Linked DNA regions of Homo sapiens: region 1 is linked to region 2. The links are contacts of gene promoters, found by promoter capture Hi-C in human tissues and cell types (Jung and others, 2019). All regions are on one chromosome and are shown on one strand. The core of a region is centred on a gene start or on the middle of the fragment in contact, and the rest is flanking DNA. Distances in the headings are between cores, read along the strand shown.

What was found. Contacts are between HindIII fragments. The study calls those that stand out against the background at their distance.
Region 1: the fragment with the promoter of KRT26 here is called in contact with the fragment with the promoter of KRTAP9-4 in region 2 in 1 of the 25 tissues and cell types used here (IMR-90 fibroblasts).

The regions. Positions count from the first base shown.
Region 1 is chr17:40,767,538-40,774,105 of GRCh38, forward strand. KRT26 (keratin 26) reads right to left here and starts at 4,664. Exons shown (of 8, transcript NM_181539.5): 1 at 4,136-4,664; 2 at 3,617-3,699; 3 at 2,716-2,872; 4 at 2,424-2,585; 5 at 2,217-2,342; 6 at 1,342-1,559; 7 at 49-116. The coding sequence starts at 4,576. The HindIII fragment of the contact is 6,204 bases long and covers 3,699-6,568 here.
Region 2 is chr17:41,244,525-41,251,000 of GRCh38, forward strand. KRTAP9-4 (keratin associated protein 9-4) reads left to right here and starts at 5,163. Exons shown (of 1, transcript NM_033191.3): 1 at 5,163-6,129. The coding sequence starts at 5,197. The coding sequence ends at 5,661. RefSeq lists an enhancer at 4,890-5,444. The HindIII fragment of the contact is 7,447 bases long and covers 1-6,476 here.

The DNA of each region.
Region 1 (6,568 bases), core at 3,414-5,913, 480 kb before region 2:
TTGATGGAGTTTAAGGAGTTACACCAGGTAAAAAAAATCTATCTATACCTTTGGCTTGATTTCCAGAATTCACAGGCCTGTATCCTTTTGATTTGTAACATGTGGATTTGCTTTTTCTGTGAAGAGAAGAGTAAATTATTGCATTTTTTTTTCTTTCCTTAGTGAGCTTATAAATACCTCTAAATTGGAAATAAGAGTTTTGGAATTCTAGTTTCAATAAGATTCAAATTCCTTATATATTTAAAGGACATTAATAAGCTTTTCATGACTTCAACATAGTGAAAGAAGAGATTAAATGGATGTTTATGAATAGAAATTTTCTCATGACCAGAAATTACCTCTTTCATCTAGCAATATTTCTCACTCTGACTTTTCAATCAACTGGCCAGTGAATGTGTTTGGAGTGCCTACCATGAAAAAGGTGTTGCTGGGCTAGGTGCTGCAGAAGATATAGAACCAAGACACAGTTTTTACAGTTGGAAATAAAGTATACACATGCAAAAAGTTACCTATAACATGAAAAGTGCTGTAAATTAAGTGAAAAGTGAGTGGTGTAATGAGTGCTTTGTTCTGAGGAGGGAGCAATCACTGTTGGGTTCCTGTGAGAATAGGCTGCAGAGGGCTGATGGGCCTTGGAGGGTGCAAGACGTTACCTCCTCACTATGCGGCCATGGGCAAGCATTTAGTAATAGGCAGTGATTACCAAATACCTTTTCTGTGTATGCCACTGTCATGAGCTCTTTACCTATGTAGTGAGACATTATAGTTAAGACTTGTTACAAGTATGGTTTTGGCTTTATCACAATTTCATCAACGAGGAAACTGCATTTGAAAAGGTTAAACAATGTGCTCATAATTCACCCAGTATTTGATTCACAGCCAGGGCTGCAATTCCAGGGCTGTTGCTATTGACTAAGAAACTATGGTGCCTCTCCAATTAATTCTTCCTATATCTTCATTGCTCATCTTTAATACAAGGTACATGTGGGGTAACTAGTGAAGTGATAAGAAAAGAGAATGAGTTATTTATAAGAAATGTGCTTACACACTAAATCACAGAAAGCAATTTTCCCCTTGAATTGGAGTACTGGAATTGTTAAATATTCTATATTTAAATGTCCTTTATATATTATACATACAAATATTTTGCATACTTAGAAATTTGATTTTCAAATTTCTGCATGTTTTAATTTCACTTGGCTGCAATAATATACATTCCTGAGGATAAATATGTATGATCTCCAGAGTAGGAAATTCTAGGATGCAATATTGGCATACCTATACTGTGGGAAAACCTAGTTAATGTGAGGTTTTTTTTTTTTTTTGCAAGTTAATCTTTACCTTTCTTCTCCATCTAGTAAGTTGCAATAAATGTCAATTTCTTTTTCTAAAAATATTTTTACATCAAGAAGCTGTTCATACTCCAGCTTCTGGCCTTCTGTTTCTGTTCGAATCTGTTGCAGTTGTTCCTCCATCACCCCTATCTGATCCTGAATTTGCTGGAGTTGATTGCAGTAATTTCCTTCAGTCTCAGCCAAGGAGCATTCATAGGAATGTTTCTGAAAGAAAAGCAAAGTGAAGCTTGAATGTGTAAAAGAGAAATGGCATGGTCATCTTATATTATTTTATTTATTTTTTTGAGACTGTGTCTTGCTCTGTCACCCAGGCTGAGTGCAGTGGCATGATCTTGGCTCACTGCAGCCTCTCTTCCTGTGTTCAAGTGATTCTCCTGCCTCAGCCTCCTGAGTATGTGGGATTACAGGTACATGCCACCACACCCAGCTAATTTTTATATTTTTAGTAGAGATGGGGTTTCACCATGTTGGCCTGGCTGGTCTTGAATTTCTGACCTCAAGTTATCCACCTGCCGTGGCCTCCCAAAGTGCTGGGATTACAGGTGTGAGCCACTGTGCTTGGCCGGCATGGTCATATTTTAAATATTCTCAAGGTAGAAATAATTATTTGTATAAGGTCTGAATATTTTCAATTGAAAATCAACATTTGCAAGATTTAAAAAAATTCCTCTATTGTAAAAAGGCATTTTTCAAGTTTTGGAATTGGTGAGTTTAGGGACAGAATTCTTGATATTTAATATATTTTATACTTTTAGTCATATGTAAATGGTTATACGTACTTGGTGTTATATGTATTTTTATATCTGTATTGACTTATACATATTCACACATATATTCAATTCAATGGCGATTCCTACGTACCACAGCCATGAGGGACTGAAGTTCTATTTCCAGGGTTTGCAGATTGCGTTTTAATTCGGTCAGCTCATTTCTGGCTGCTGTGGCTGCTCCCTCATGATCGGAAATCTGTTGTTGCAGCGTTGCACTCTGAAGTGTAATTGTCGAAAGGGTTAGTGACTGGCCTGATTGTCTCCTGAGCAAGCCCTTTGTAATTTGCCATAGACCTACCCTCTCGTTGAACCAGGCTTCAGCATCTTTGCGGTTCTGCTCAGCCAAGTCCTCATACTCAGCCCTCATGTTGTTCAACAGGACAGTTAGGTCCACTCCTGGGGTTGCATTCATCTCCACGTTCACGTTCCCCCCAGCTGTATATTGCAAGACTTCCATTTCCTAGAAAAGGGATCGGTATTCATCCTCAGTGGAGGATTTTGATTGATGTTCATGCCCTGCTACGAAATGAACAGTGGACTTCAAGAAGGAAATTAGAAACTGTATGAAGCCACTCTGCAGGCTTCCTTACCTCCTCATGACTTTTTTTGAGGTAGGTCAATTCCTCACTGAGGGTCTCACACTGTATCTCCAGGTCGGTTGTACAAAGGGTCAGTTCATCCAACACTCTGCGAAGACCACTGGTGTCGGCCTCAACACTGTGGTGCAGAGCCAGCTCATTTTCATACCTGAAAGATTAGTAAGGCACCTGAGAGTTGTCATCGTAGGCAGGTGCAAAGCACAACTTTTTAAGGTATTTCATATGCTGAAAGATATGATGTTCTGTACATACCTCTGAAGCTTCTTGCAATGGCAAACTGCTAAAATGGTTTGAGATACCTAACAATTCATGAATTGTATTTTGGGGATGTTATTTCTTCAGAGCTGATTTTTGTCATCCAATGTGCTTAACAATTAAATAAAATATTGCTAGATTTTAGATTTTAAAAAATATGTGATTGCTCTTTTTTGTTGTTTGTTTTTGAGACAGTCTCACTCTGTCACCCAGACTGAAGTGCAGTGGCCCCATCTCAGCTCACTGCAACCTCCACCTTCCGGGTTCAAGTGATTCTCATGTCTCAGCCTCCCAAGTAGCTGGGATTACAGGAGTGAGCCACCATGCCTGACTATTTTTTTGTGTGTGTACTTTTAGTAGAGACGGGGTCTTGCCACATTGGCCAGGCTGGTCTCAAACTCCTGACCTCAAGTGATCTGCCTGCCTCAGCCTCCCAAGGTGCTGGGATTACAGGCATGAGCTACTCTATCCAACCATGATAGCTCTTTTTATAACGGCTTATTTAATTCAATTTCTTTATTGATCTAGTCTGGCTTTAGAAAAACATTTTGGTTTTCAAAGCAAAATATATATTCCTTAATCCAATTGTAATATTTTAACTTTTATTAATATAATTAATCAGTTTGTTTTCACCTACTTCAGCCTGAAGTCATCAGCGGTCAGTCTGGCATTGTCATTTTGTAGAACAATGCTGGCATTGCAGATGGTCGCAGAAATAATCTAAATAGGGAAGATTGTGAAAAATGTTAATTACCAAAAGTCAAAGGAGGCTCCAGACTTCAGTGTGATTTTATATCTTCTTAATCTGTCAAACATCTGTTTTAGTATCTTTTTTCTATGTTAAAGAAATCTGGATTTTCTTCAGATAATAAGCATCCAGAGCTTAAGAGCCACATAGATACTTTTACTACTTTTGATCAAATGGTATGAGCTAAATATATGAAAAACGAAGTGACTATATCTGTTTTGAAATGATTTCTTTTTCATTATTTAATTCTACAAGATTTTATTGCCAGGTACTGTGCTTAGCACTGGAAATACAGAGTGAACAAATCTTACATCACATAAATTTGTTAGGCACATTTTATATTTTCTCTTCTTTAAATTATCAACACACAAAGTCTGTAGTAAAAGTATGCAAATCCCTATTTCTTACCTGCCTTTTAAGATCTTCTATGACTGAGAAGTATCTGCTATAGTCATGATCGTGTTCCCGGGAAGAGCCAGGCTCACATTTCTCGTACCAGCCCTTGATCTTCTGCTCCAGGTCTGCGTTGGCCTCCTCTAGAGCATGCACATGGTCCAGGTAGGATGCCAGGCGGTCGTTGAGATTCTGCATGGTCACCTTTTCATTCCCAGAGAGGAGGCTGTGCTCATTGCCAAGAAAACCAGCACAGGCACCACTTCCCAACCCTCCACCGCTATTGCAGAAGCTTCCTCCAGAAGAGATGCCCTCAAGAGTACAAGAAAAGCTGCTTCTTGCTCCCGATCCAACACACACATTCCCAGCCACGAAGCCTGTTCCTCCACCGGACAGCCTACCAGACCCAGTTCGCGAGCAGATCCTCCTGGATCCACCAGAAAGTCGAAAAGACATGGTGGCAGCACAGCCGGGCAACCCCTTCCCAGAAAGAGGAGCAAAGCCAGGGTTCACCTTCCACACTTGTTAGCTCCCTTGGCCTTTTATAGTATTCACTGGGTCATTTCAGTCTTGACTATGCCAGTCTGTAATAAAATTTACTTGCATCCTAATTGTTGTTTTTCACAATTGGGTAATTTTTAACAGCGTCCAGTCTGTAGGTGGAAAGGTGCCCCAAGGATATTTTTTATATATAAAAATGGTGCCAGGTGAAGTAAAACTAAATCATAGCCTCAAAGGCCAAAATTAAATATGACTAAATGTGCATCTTTTTGGCCACTGGAATATTAATAGAATCTAGATTCTCCCCCTGCCACATATAACAAAGAATTAATAATTCCAATGAGAAATGTCTCCTACTTTTGTCCTGTTAACGCTCATAGAGTATTTCTAGTATTCCCACTTCATTGAGTGCTTCCTTTCTTCCTTTCGTTTCTTTTTCTTTTTTCCTTTTTTTAAAGATATGTGGTCTCGCTATGTTTCCCAGGCTGGTCTCGAACTCCTGGCCTCCAGTGATCCTCAGCCTCAGCACCCAGCTCAGCCTCCTGTGGCCAGCATTACAGGTGTGAGCCACTGCCCTGGGTGTCTGGGTGTGTGTTTTCCTTCTTATCAAAACCAGAAAATCTCAGCATCTATTGATCTTTTGGTAGTGGGAGATTTTAAAAGAAATCTACCATTTCTTGAATTGAAAACTGAAGTAATAGAAATCCTGCAGTCCTGCTTATTGTTAATTTCAATATAATTCATGAATATGTGATGATGGTGGAGAATTAATTCGATTGAGATTTCTTGGTTTGGTCCAGGAGCAGGACATCAATTCAACTAACAGTCTCCAAATTGTTCACTTCCCTACCCCTAAATAGTGTTTACTGTCTTTTAGTTTAAATGTATGTATTTAAGACATTAGGAATTATTTTGAGAAGTGAGCATCATATTGATTAGCAAGGAGTAAAATATATAAGGAGGGAGGTGTTTTCATCATTACCTAGAAAACCAGTACTTATAGTACCCTAGAGAGAAGATAAGTTGTCACAGGGAAGTACTCTTTATTCTCTTGCCTTGATGCTCTTGGGAAGTTATCCAGGCTTGGATCATTTCCCTACTGGGCAAATGAAAATAATAGCATCAAAGAGTCTCAAATGAATGTTGAGCAGTTCCAATCATGAATGACGATAAGACAGTTTGAAAGGCACAAACATTTTTAAATGTTAATTATTTAAATTATTATAATAAAGTGGACATGTCAGACAGGGTCGGGTCTCTATCACCTATAATGATACAAATTGATTGGTTAACTAATTATGGGTTTAGTTTTGAAACAGTAATTTTCTTCCGAATGATATTTTTCAATGTTGTGGATAGTGAATCCTTTGGAAAACATCCAACATTATTGTCACTAAATCGTATGGAACATTTAGTGGACTGCATGGATTTTCTAAATCAAAAATATTTAAAAATAAATAATAAATACAGAGCTATAACTGGACCATCAGCTTATGTTTAGAACAGTGCATGATAACCTAGATACAGTTCCTGTTTAGAGACTTTTTACTGATTTTGTTGTGACCTGGTCAAATTTTTAATCTTTTGCTAATTTTTCCCAGAAATAAAACAAGAAAAACAGAGAGTATTGTCAGTTTAATGATTTATAAGGCTTGAGTTTCTTAGGTGAGTTATTATGAGATTTCAAAGTATTATTAACATAATCTATTTATCTCTAGATACTTTATAAATACAAATTATCTTTTGTGAAACAAGTTAAACACATATTATTAGGACTATTTTGGAGATGAGTTGTCTCTGAAGCTAAGTGGCCACACAGATTACAAAGCATTTCTATATCAAAGCAGGACTGGAATATATGATGCTTAACTCCTTCTTGAAATGTTGTCGCCTATTTACTCACGTGAGTAGGTCTTTTAAATTATTTTAATCATAGATTTTCCTCTA
Region 2 (6,476 bases), core at 3,913-6,412:
CCAAAAAAGGGCCTGCATTGCCAAGACACTCCTAAGCCAAAAGAACAAAGCTGGAGTCATCATGCTACCTAACTTAAAACTATACTAAAAGGCTATAGTAACAAAAACATCATGGTACTGGTACCAAAACAGAGGTATAGACCAATGGAACAGAACAGAGCCCTCAGAAATAATACCACACATCTACAACCATCTGATCTTTGACAAACCTGACAAAAGCAAGAAATGGGGAAAGGATTCCCTATTTAATAAATGGTGCTGGGAAAACTGGCTAGTCATACGTAGAAAGCTGAAACTGGATCCCTTCCTTACACCTTATACAAAAATTAATTTAAGATGGATTAAAGACTTAAATGTTAGACCTAAAACCATAAAAACCCTAGAAGAAAACCTAGGCAATACCATTCAGGACATAGGCATGGGCAAGGACTTCATGTCTAAAACACCAAAAGCAATGGCAATAAAAGCCAAAATTGACAAATGGGATCTAATTAAACTAAAGAACTTCTGCACAGCAAAAGAAACTACCATCAGAGTGAACAGGCAGCCTACAGAATGGGAGAAAATTTTTGAAATCTACTCATCTGACAAAGGGCAAATATCCAGAATCTACAAAGAACTCAAACAAATTTACAAGAAAAAAACAAACCATCCCATCAAAAACTGGATGAAGGATATAAACAGACACTTCTCAAAAGAAGACATTTATGCAGCCAAAAGACACATGAAAAAATGCTCATCATCACTGGCCATCAGAGAAATGCAAATCAAAACCACAATGAGATACCATCTCACACCAGTTAGAATGGCTATCATTAAAAAGTCAGGAAACAACAGGTGCTGGAGAGGATGTGGAGAAATAGGAACACTTTTACACTGTTGGTGGGACTGTAAACTAGTTTAACCATTGTGGAAGACGGTGTGGTGATTCCTCAAGGATCTACAACTAGAAATACCATTTGACCCAGCCATCCCATTACTGGGTATATACCCAAAGGATTATAAATCATGCTGCTATAAAGACACATGCACACGTATGTTTATTGCAGCACTATTCACAATAGCAAAGACTTGGAACCAACCCAAATGTCCATCAATGATAGATGGGATTAAGAAAATGTGACACATATACACCACAGAATACTATGCAGCCATAAAAAAGGATGAGTTCATGTCCTTTGTAGGGACATGGATGAAGCTGGAAACCATCATTCTCAGCAAACTATCGCAAGGACAAAAAACCAAACACCACACATTCTCAGTCATAGGTGGCAATTGAACAATGAGAACCGTTGGACGCAGGAAGGGGAACATCACACACCGGGGCCTATTATGGGGTGAGGGGAGTGGGGAGGGATAGCATTAGGAGATATATCTAATGTAAATAACGAGTTAATGGGTGCAGCACACCATTATGGTGCACGTATACATATGTAACAAACCTGCACATTGTGCACATGTACCCTAGAACTTAAAGTAAAAAAAAAAAAAAAAGAAAGAAAAAAAAAAGAAACAGAAGTCATGATAGACAGAGGTTTTTGCTTCGGGTCCTGAACTGATTCAAGCTAAGCATTCACCCACGGAAGGTTGATTGATACTGGATCTGTGAGAAATACAAAGATTGGGGACCTAGGTCACCTTCTTGGGGCCTCCTACAAGCAGGGGAGTGGTAGAAATACCTCTGATGAGCTAACAATGTAGATTTCCATGACAGATGCCACTTCTGAGACTGTGAATCTAGAATGCTCTGAAGACTTGGCTAAGAGACAACAGCCACTTACTGTCATCATCGTTCAGGGATGAAGTAAAGGAGATGAAAACTAGGACATTCTCTTTGACTAGCATCAGTTATGAAAGATGAATAAGTTCAGTAGGTCTAATGTACAGTAATATGACTATAGTTAAAAACACTTTATCATATACCTGAAATTTACTGAGAAGGTAGATCTTAAATGTTCACACCAGAAAAATAAAAAGGAAATGGTAACTAAGTGACCTAATAAATATGTTATTCACAATCAATATATATATCAGAGCATCACCTTCTATACCTGAAATGTACACAATTTTTGTTTGTCAATTATACCTCAATACAGCTAGAAAAAAACGTATTTAGTTGATCTATTTAATTATTACAAAAATATTCTTATCTTCAACATAAAACTTGGGAATTTTCTGAACAAAAAACACTAATTCTGTGTTGCCTGCTCTATGATGGGTACTGGATAAATGCTTTGTGTACATTATTATTAACTATTTAACAAACTTTCAAAATAGGTATTAATGTTCCCCTTGTAGAGATGAGAAATTTGAGGCTGAGAGAGTTAACGTATTGTCATAGATTAGTTTCTCCCAGAAGAGACTTTGAAGAAAATATTCCAGGGAAACTAGTTTACTGAGAAGTGCAGATCACACCGGTAGGGACTGGGGAAGTGATACAGAAGAAGGCACACTATTAAGTCAGTATCACAGTCACCAACTAAAGCTTAAACTAAAGGGAAAACTATCAGAAATGATGAAAAACACACAGCTAGAATTACCCTACTTCAGGAATGAGGAAGCTAAAGTCTTTATAAATCAGCTCTCCAGAATCATTGGTTGAGTGTTTTTCTCTGTGTTGCATTCACAGGTGGCATGACTTTCTACAGCTGCAATACAAGAGCCCTTAGGCACAGAGATGCAGATTTTGACAGATGGAAATTGATCCAAGCACAGTAACATCCAAGATATATGGGTGCAGTCATGAAAACTTGTCTACAATCTACAATTAGCTCCACTCAAGTCAAATATTTGCTACTTAAATAGGATGGGCAGCCACAACCTCTAGGAGAAGGAAGAAGAGGAAGAGAGGAAGCAGAGGAAGAGAAGGGACAGAAGATGAGAGGAGAAGGAAAGAGAAAAGAAGGAAAGAAAAACAGAAAGACAGAGAGAAGGAAGGAAGGAAAGAAGGAAGGAAGGAAGGACAGGAAGGAGGGAGGGAGGGAAAGGAGGGAGCGGGGAGGAACTGAGGGAGGGGAAGGAAGGAAGGAAGGAAAAAAGAAAGAAAGAAAGATAAAAAGAAAGAAAGAAAGAGAAAGAAAGAAAGAGAGAGAAAGGGAGAGAGAAGGGAAGGGAAGGGAGGGAGGAAGGGAGGAAAAAAGGAAGGAAGGAAGGAAAAGAAAGAAAGAAAAGAAAGAAAGAAAGAAAGAAGAAAGAGGAAGGAAAGGAAAAGAAAGGAGAGGAAGTGAGATATAAAACGAAGGCCAATTAAATAATCTACACTTACTTCTGCTATAATACAGTGCACCTAAGTTTCATAAACTCCGTTAATTACCAAGAGTTCTATTCTCCCTTCACCCCTGGCCAGCACTCTTGTTGGTCTAGATAACTGCTGATAGAGTAGCTCAGAGCATCCTTCCTGAAGGGTCTGAGCCCCTGGTTACTATACCATTGTCCACCGTGATTGTTGTTTTTACTCATTTGTGGTTATCACTAGGCATGGACACACTGTGAGATTCTGCAGTGTTATGGGTTCATTTGCGTCCCTCAAAATTCATATTCAAATAGAATCATCTAAAGTGTTATCTGATAAGACAAGGTCATATTGGAAACAATTAGGCCTCTGATTAAATATGACTGTGTCTATTCACAAGGGAGAAATTCAGAGACAGTATGGATATAATAGAAAAATTATGTCAAACACACTTGGAGATGATAGACTTTGACACGTCAGGGAGAGAGACGTGGAACAGATACTTCCCTCGCAGTCTTCAGATGAAAACAACATTGCCAACACCTTAATTTCAGAAAAGAGGCCTTCAGAACTTTGATAAATAAATTTAAGCCACTTTTTTTCAGTAATTCATCAGGGCAGTGCTAGTAAATTAATATACTCAGTAAATCTCCTGAGCTATAGATATATTCTGCTACACTATATGGCTTGAGGGTAATTATCCCTCACCAAATAGTAACTACTTTCTCTGTCTGCTGCTTTGCTTATATGAAGAGTCCAAAATGACTAGGCGATAAAGATTACTTTTGTTTATGCCAAAGAAATAGAGAAGCAAATACTATACTTTTTATTCACATGAAAACTTTAAAAAACCAAAAATTACCTACAGGATTACAACTGATAGAGTGATTAGCTGTCTTTGGGAATGAGTAAGAGCATATAATTGGGAGAGAATGGAATTAATTTCTATTTCCTAACATAGATGTAATGGGGACACAGATGTATTTACAATATAATACTATATCAAGTTGAAAATTAATAATTTGCATTCTTCTCAAATGAATGGTATACCTAGAAAATGTTTTAAACATGTTAGAACTCCATGATGAATCAGGCATCATCTCAACTCATCTAATTCCTTCATTAAAAAGAAATAGAGAGAGAGAGAGAAGACATGCTGCTTACTGTGCTAGTAACCGGGTTGCGACTAGAGCCACAGCACATGCTGGTTGGCCTGAATCTCAAGCATTTATGCCATAGAGAGTCCTACATTCTCATTCTGGAATCGCCACGCTCACAGACAAGTCAGAATGAATGGTCACTCAGGGCATAGATTACTTGATGCTGTCTAAATCCCAGTGGATTTATCTGCATCCACCTGCTCTCGATCTGCTCTGCCACATGGAACACACTGTGACAAACACCCTCTTCCCAAGTGATGTTCAAAGAACTGAAAGACAGGTGGTGTGGGTTGCACAGAGAGATGCCTGCTAGTCTTGAGTCAGAATTTGGTGGGTGACTAGTCTTGGGCCCAGGCATGGATTCATTTTGTCACTGTAAATATATCAGCATCATGCTTCTCCCCACAGACACTTCCCAGTCTACATACAGCCAAACATGAGGCTGGCCAGAGAGAACTTCCTGAGCCTCCCAGATCAACAGGAACTATCACATGACCAGATGATGGTCAGAACAGGAATGATGCTGATGATGAGATTGCCTTCCTTTTATCTGAAACAAAGTGTCTATGAGTAATTCACAATTAAGAAACAGATTAAACCTTAATCTGTTTAACCTTAAGGAAACAACTACCCTTTGAGAATCACAAACGGACTGGGAAAACAATGTAAACGGAAACAAGGAAAAGTCCTGCTGATTGGTGGAAACTTTGGAGGCCAGGTGTATAAAAGGTCCAGATTGCAAGGGGTCATCAGATTCTGGGAAACTCACCTCTGAACAGAAGCCCACCCTCTACCCCTGACACCATGACCCACTGTTGCTCCCCTTGCTGTCAGCCTACATGCTGCAGGACCACCTGCTGCAGGACCACCTGCTGGAAGCCCACCACTGTGACCACCTGCAGCAGCACACCCTGCTGCCAGCCCTCCTGCTGTGTTTCCAGCTGCTGCCAGCCTTGCTGCCGCCCAACTTGCTGTCAAAACACCTGCTGCCAGCCCACCTGTGTGACCAGCTGCTGCCAGCCTTCCTGCTGCAGCACACCCTGCTGCCAGCCCACCTGCTGTGGGTCCAGCTGTGACCAGAGCAGCTCCTGTGCACCTGTGTACTGCAGAAGAACCTGCTACTACCCCACAACTGTCTGCCTGCCTGGTTGCCTAAACCAGAGCTGTGGCTCCAACTGCTGCCAGCCCTGCTGCCGCCCAGCCTGCTGTGAGACCACTTGCTTCCAGCCCACCTGTGTGTCCAGCTGCTGTCAGCCTTTTTGCTGCTGATCAAGTCCCAAGAGAACCACCATCCTCACACAACAACTTTCTGCTCAACTGACTTATCTTTTGGGGGACTAATTTAATTTGCTGCTGACAGCCACCATGCTCTCACCCAAATTTTTATGAATTCTCTACCTGTTTAAAATCTTGGGAATCTACTTGAGGGAGGGCAGAATACTTCATCCTGATTCTCTTTTTCCTTACACTTTGTGGATCATGTGCCAGCTTCGTGTGTTCTCAATTTTGAGTCATGGTCTCAGCTTTGACTCAAAAGTCAAGAGCTTCATTCTCTGCTTCTAAGGAATTTAGGTTTCTGCAACTGATCAATAATCTTTGCAATCATATTTTTGTTTTCAATATCCTCCTCATGGTTCTTGTATCCTTCTTTCTTCTTTTCATAACTTTGGGTTATGTTTCTGCTACCAGCAGAGATTCTTAGCTATATGTTTCTGAATAAACTCTGAACCATCCTCATCTCATATGGTGTTTTGTTTTATATGAAAGCATTCCTGATATGAGATTTACACACATATCACATACCATAGGTATTATCCAATTTGATTCTCAAAACAGATGGTCGTGTGTTATTACCTCCATTTTTTCAGCTGAGAACAATTTAATGTGTGATGTTATGTAGCTAGTAAAGGGCAGACTCTTGTCCAAGCTGAGGTCCTCTCTTTCTGCCCAAGGACACTTACATTTAACTCTCAATATAGTAGAAATGACATTGGAAGTAAGTATTAGCAAGTCATATACTTGAGTTTTTTTAACAATAGGACAAATAATCTCTTATATTTGCAGATAACGTTTTTGTTTACAAA